Regions from separate parts of the Homo sapiens genome. Here region 1 is linked to region 2. The links are contacts of gene promoters, found by promoter capture Hi-C in blood cells and fetal thymus (Javierre and others, 2016). All regions are on one chromosome and are shown on one strand. Each heading gives the region's core, a stretch centred on a gene start or on the middle of the fragment in contact. The rest is flanking DNA. Distances are from core to core; before and after follow the strand shown. Region 1 overlaps LOC105372269 (a long non-coding RNA gene). Region 2 holds the start of ZNF433 (zinc finger protein 433).

Region 1 (2,856 bases), core at 134-2,633, 2.6 Mb after region 2:
GGCTGTTGTTTCTTGGTGATTCTTTCTGTGGTTCTTAATCCAGCCAGTGTAATGGTAATCCAAAGCTTCAGGTAAGTTTACCAATCCTGAATCAGCTGGGTGTAATAGCTTATGCCTGTAATCCCAGCACTTCGGGAGGCCAAGTCAGGCGGATCACTTGGGCTCAGGAGTTCAAGACCAGCCCGGGCAACATGGCAAAACCCTATCTCTACAAAAAATGTAAAGATTAGCCTGGTGTGATGGCACGTGCCTGTAGTCCAACCTACTCAGGAGGCTGAGATAGGTGTCTCACTGACCCCAGGGAGGTCATGGCTGCAGTGAGCTCAGATCGTGCCATTGGACTCCAACCTGGGTGACAGAGGCCTTGTCTCAAAAACAAAACAAAACCAAAAAAACTGAATTGAGGTCCATGCATTTTCATGTTACATGTTTTCTTATGGAGAGGAAAGGGTTTCAGAGTGGTTCTCTTGTGGTATGAGTGTGATTATTTTAACCCATCTTTGTTGCGTTTAACTGTTACCAGTGACACAAAAGACGCAGATTAGTCTTAATTGCCTTGTGTGACTTCTGTCACCTCACAGACTGTCCTTAGATGCCATCCTGATTGTCTCAAATAAAACCTATAGGTTATTCCTGAAACTTTTTCACAGTTGTTGGAGTATGAGCACTTGTGGGTCACAGGTGAGGTCAATACTGTAGGTTGGCCTCATCCTGGTGCTTGGACTAATAGTGATGTATCACTAAGAAATGATACCCTAGTCTCACAGCCTAGAAATTGCCTAGCTTCAGAAGCTGATTTCCTTTTTTATTTTTTTTAGAAGCTGATTTCTGATTGTTTATATAAAATCACTTGATCTTTGTATACTGAATTTTACTAGAAGCCTTGTTCAACATTCTTTAACATCCTAGTTTTATGTATTTTGGGTTTTCCACATTTCATATTATCTGTAACTGACTTAACTTGTAACCTTCAGTCATTTATGTCTTGTCTAGGCAGAAAATACTAGAATAATAACTAGAAGTAGTAAAACAAGCATACTTTTATTTCTAATCCTAATGGCAGATGTTTTCCATCATTACTAATCACTGTATTGGTTGCTGTAGATTTTTAAAAGGTCAAGGTTTTTTTCTACTTTTCATTGCTTAGGGAATCTTTCCCATGAATGGCTTAAGAATTTATTGAATGCTTTTCCCTGATTCCTCTTTGATGATCTTGCCTTACTCAGAAAATTCAGGTACCTAGGACTGACTGTACTTGCCCTTGATAGATACCTAATATTTAAATGTGTAAGTAAATAAAAGTTTTTTTAAAATGTGGAAAGATAACTGATTGACATTCCAATGTTATATTATCTTTGTAATTCCAGAAAAATGCAGTTTGAGTATAATGGATTAACTTTTTTTTTTGCTAGAATATTTTATATACCTATAGTGTAAAGATTTTTTAAAAATATTATTAACATTGGCATGTAATATTTGCCAAGACCAGGTCGGTCATGGAGACCACAATCCAGCAGCACTAGAGGAATAAAGACATAGACAGAAATAGAGTGCAAAGTGGGATCAGGGGGCTAACAGCCTTCAGAGCTGAGAGCCTCGAACAGAGTTTGACCCACCTATTTATTGACAGCCTGTGATAAACATCGTTTCTGTAGTTTGTAGATTAACTGAAAGTATTCTTTAAGGAGAACAAAGGGACAGGCTCTGGCTTGTTATCTGCAGCAGGAGCATGTCATTAAGGCACAGATTGCTTATGCCATTGTTTGTGGTTTAGGAACACCTTGAGCAGTTTTCCGCCCTGGGTGGGCCAGGTGTTCCTTGCCCTCATTCTGGTGAACCAGCAACCTCCAGTGTGTGCATCATAACCATCACGAGCATGTCACAGTGCTGCAGAGATCTTGTTTATGACTTTTCTTATGGCTTGTTTATGGCCAGGCTTGGGGCCTATTCCCAGCATGTCCCCCTTTTTGTTTTACCAGGGCAATAAAAGCAAAGGCGGCTTTATCACAGTGAGCTACTTCTTGCAGGAGTCAGGATCCGCATCTGCAGACTACACAAAGACAAACAACACAGATTAATAGCACAACCATCATAGAAATCACAGAGCCTCCAAGTGTTTTTATGCATTTCATAGGATTTATGGCTGCCAATCCATCTGCAACTCCTTCAAGCACTCCAGTTCCTGGCATTAAGGTCAGGTGTGCCTGGGATGCTTGAAATATTTGTTCTCTTAATTTTGCAACATCCGAAGACAAGTTTGTAGAGTGTCCTTCCAGATACTTTTTTTTATTCTTTCCCATTCATGGTCTAATTCATTATAAGGGTGAGGAGTGATACAAAAGTCAGAAGTATTCCAGTCGCATTTCAGCTGCATTCCATATTCCAAACTAGCTACTTGATCTCCCACCCACATTACAGTTGGTTGGAGATCATTGATTTGATTAACTATCTTTTGGTCTATTTTAGTTTGAGAGTTCCACAGCAGAGTAGAATTCTTTTGCCATTATTTACAAAATCTGCTGTCTGCACTGATGAATGTAGTGCCACTCCAGCTACTGCAGCAGTAGCTGTGACAGCAATCAGTCCCATAATAATCAAGATTAAAGTAGCAATGAAACACTGAGAACTTCTTAGAATTTTCTGAAGAATTTAGTAATAATATGTACAGAGGGAGAGGGTTCCCAAGGATGGGAAAGCTTCGCCGGTAACCAACTCCTTCTTGAGCTCTCACTGCTAGTATAGAATGATTAGTATTAAACAAGGAAGAGTTCACACAAGAGGACAATCTACCTTCCTGGCAAGTTACATGATAATTAGGGGTGTCAAACTTTAGATCGCCCATTACCAACAAAAGGA
Region 2 (2,826 bases), core at 155-2,654:
TGGCATCACACAGACCAATAAACTGGCTCACCTGCTCCAGTGGCCCCTAGCCAAGAACTGACTCAGTGCAAGAAGACAGCTGAGACTTCCTGTGATATCCTTTTCGCGACCAATCAGCATTCCCCATTTTCCAGCCTTCTGCTCACCAAATTATCTTTAAAACCCTAGCCTCGGCCGGGTGCGGGGGCTCAGGCCTGTAATCCCAGCACTTTGGGAGGCCGAGGCGGGTGGATCATGAGGTCAGGAGTTTGAGACCAGCCTGACCAACATGGTAAACCCCGTCTCTACTAAAAATACAAAAATTAGCCGGGCATGGTGGCGCATGCCTGTAATCCCAGCTACTCAGGAGGTTGAGGCAGGAGAATCGCTTGAACCCGGGAGGCGGAGGTTGCACTGAGCCGAGATTGCGCCACTGCACTCCAGCATGGGCGACAGAGAGATTCCGTCTCAAAAAAAAACCAAAAAAACAAAACCTAGCCTCCCATTTTTTAGGGAGACAGAATTGAATAAAAATAAAACTCTTCTCTTTCATTTAGCCGGCTCTATGTATATTAAACTCCACTGCAATTCCCTGTCTTTTTTTTTTTTTTTTTTTTCGGAGACAGGGTCTCACTCTGACATCCAGGCTGGTAAAATCACAGCTCACTGTGGCCTCGACCTCTCTGGGCTCAGGCGATCCTCTCATTTCAGCCTTCCGAGTAGCTGGGACTGCAAACATGTACCACCACGCCCGACTAATTTTTGTATTTTTTGTAGAGGCGGGGTTTTGCTATGTTACCCAGGCTGGGCTTAAGTTCCTAGGCTCAAGCAATCTGCCTGCCTTGGCTTCCCAAAGTGGTGGGGTTACAGGCATGAGCTACCCCCACCCCCCCAGCCCACCGCCGGACGAGCTAAAGTTTCTATTCAACAGTACTCTATGGCAGGGGTCCCCAACCCCCGGTCCATGGCCTGTAAGGAACCAGTCCGCACAGCAGGAGGTGAGCGGCTGGCGGGCGAGCCAGCGGGCATTATCGCCAGAGATATGCTTCCTGTCAGATCAGCAGAGGCATTAGTCTGTCATAGGAGCCCGAACCCTATTGTGAGCTGCACATGCGAGGGATCTAGGTTGGGTTCGCCTTATGAGGATAAAATGCCTGATCTGAGGTGGAAGTTTCATTCCGAAACTATCTGCCCCCGTAGGAGAACTGTCTTCCACGAAACCGGTTCTGGTGCTAAAAAGGTTACAGACCTCTGGCTTAAAGAATCTATCGCTGGATCCGGTCAAACCCGTTTTCAGAGCCCCGTTACCAAGGGCTTCTATTGTCACTCACGGCTGAGGGGGCGGGGCCCGGCGCTTCGTCCAATCAGGGGCGCTGGGCGGGGCCTGCCGAGTGTCCATCGGGGAGGGCGAAGGCCCTGCTCTCCTCGGTTCCCGGCTCCAGGCGGCGAGCTGAGGTTGGGAGCCTGGCTTTCCCCTCCGAGAGGGTTCAGGTGCCTCTGCCATAGCTTCTGTCGCCTGTGCTGTGACCCGCACTGGTCGTGGGAGTCACCTGAAAGGCAAGAAATGGTGAGCGTGCGGGCCAGGGGTCCCGAGGCGGGGGAGGAGCTGGTTGGAACCGGCCGGAACCGGCTGTGGTGGGACCCGGGCCTCCCCGCGGCGACTCCGGGGTCTGGGACCCGATTTCCCGTGGGACAGCTCGGCCCTTGGTCCCCTTGGCCCCACAGTGGGGCTGGGCCGGCCGCCGGGACCCGGGCGTCTCGTCCTGTCCCTGCGCGGTGACTGTCACCCAGTTCCCAGAGCCCTCTCTGGGCAGCTCCGCGCCCGCTGCCCCGCGTCTCCCCACATTGTGCGGGGACTACGCGAGGGTCATGGGGGGATCCCGCCTCGGGTGTGGGGGTTTGTGTAGGAGGAGGGTGGGCTGTGGGGTCCCCAGTAGCGCCTTTCTCCTCTTAAAAATTAAACTGAGACACGTTAACAATTATAGTTTTGCTTCTCAGAATAGGTTTTAAAAAATATATTAATAATTAGAGTTCCTTTGAGATTCCTGAATGATAAACACCCAGTCCTGGCTTGTAATTTGTTAACGGAAAATGCCAAGCTGTGTAAAATAACTTAAAGAAGTTTATTCAGAGCCGAATAGGAGAGGCCTCAGCTGAGGAAAACACAACCCCAGGAGGCCTGAAGTAAGTGGTCCCGAGGCGGCTCAAGACTGTTTTTATTCATTTCAGGGAGACAGGAATTGCAGGGAGAATCATGCATCAATGCCTGGAAAGGTGTAAGTTCCTTTGGCAGAAAGGGCGGGACCTGTGGAAGGGGGGTTAGAAGGTGCAGGTGGTTGAGGGATTCTGAAGGTGGCCGTTGGTGGAGAGTGTGAAGCTTTGTCTAAAACTTCGAGGCGGTAGGAAGGATTGCTTAAGTGAAGAGGGTCTGGTATCTGTCATATGATTTCATCCCACCCAAAACAAAAGACCTGTTTCTTTAGATTTTGTGAATTCTAAGATTTGACTTACCTCTTGCCTTGCATGGCCTTAGGTCTTGTTTGTAATTTGGTTTCTTATTGTCACAGAGAGTCTGTGTTTCCAGTTGGCTGATGTCTGTTTTAACATGAAGGTGGGTCAGTGGCTATGTGGAAACTCCTAAAGGAAGCGGGTATAATGAGGCCTGTCCAGGTATAGTGAAGCCTGTCTGATGGTTAATCTGTAGTCAAGTGTGGGAGGGTTCCAGCTGGCTCTTTCCAGTGTCAGGTGACTCAATTCCAGAGTCACATTACTTTAAACTTCAAGATAATTTAGAGTTCCAACAGCTTCAATTTTTGAATTACTTATTTTCACAGACCATACAGTGGA

Evidence for each region. Contacts are between HindIII fragments. The CHiCAGO score rates a contact against its expected background, and 5 or more counts as called.
Region 1: a contact is called between a fragment that was not itself captured here and the fragment with the promoter of ZNF433 in region 2, in 1 of 17 cell types (total CD4 T cells). The highest score is 5.3, in total CD4 T cells.

Annotation. Positions count from the first base shown.
Region 1 is chr19:9,461,220-9,464,075 of GRCh38, reverse strand. LOC105372269 (a long non-coding RNA gene) reads right to left here. Exons shown (of 3, transcript XR_007067133.1): 3 at 1,547-2,050. It also overlaps a transcript of ZNF560 not described here. Among named protein-coding and RNA genes, the nearest start is that of ZNF266, 27 kb to the right of the region's middle. The HindIII fragment of the contact is 2,631 bases long and covers 68-2,698 here.
Region 2 is chr19:12,034,257-12,037,082 of GRCh38, reverse strand. ZNF433 (zinc finger protein 433) reads left to right here and starts at 1,404. Exons shown (of 4, transcript NM_001308348.2): 1 at 1,404-1,546. The coding sequence starts at 1,544. ZNF433-AS1 (ZNF433 and ZNF878 antisense RNA 1) reads right to left here. Exons shown (of 3, transcript NR_134929.1): 2 at 1,311-1,529. RefSeq lists silencers at 1,290-1,449, 1,690-1,739, 1,750-1,869. The HindIII fragment of the contact is 7,472 bases long and covers 1-2,358 here.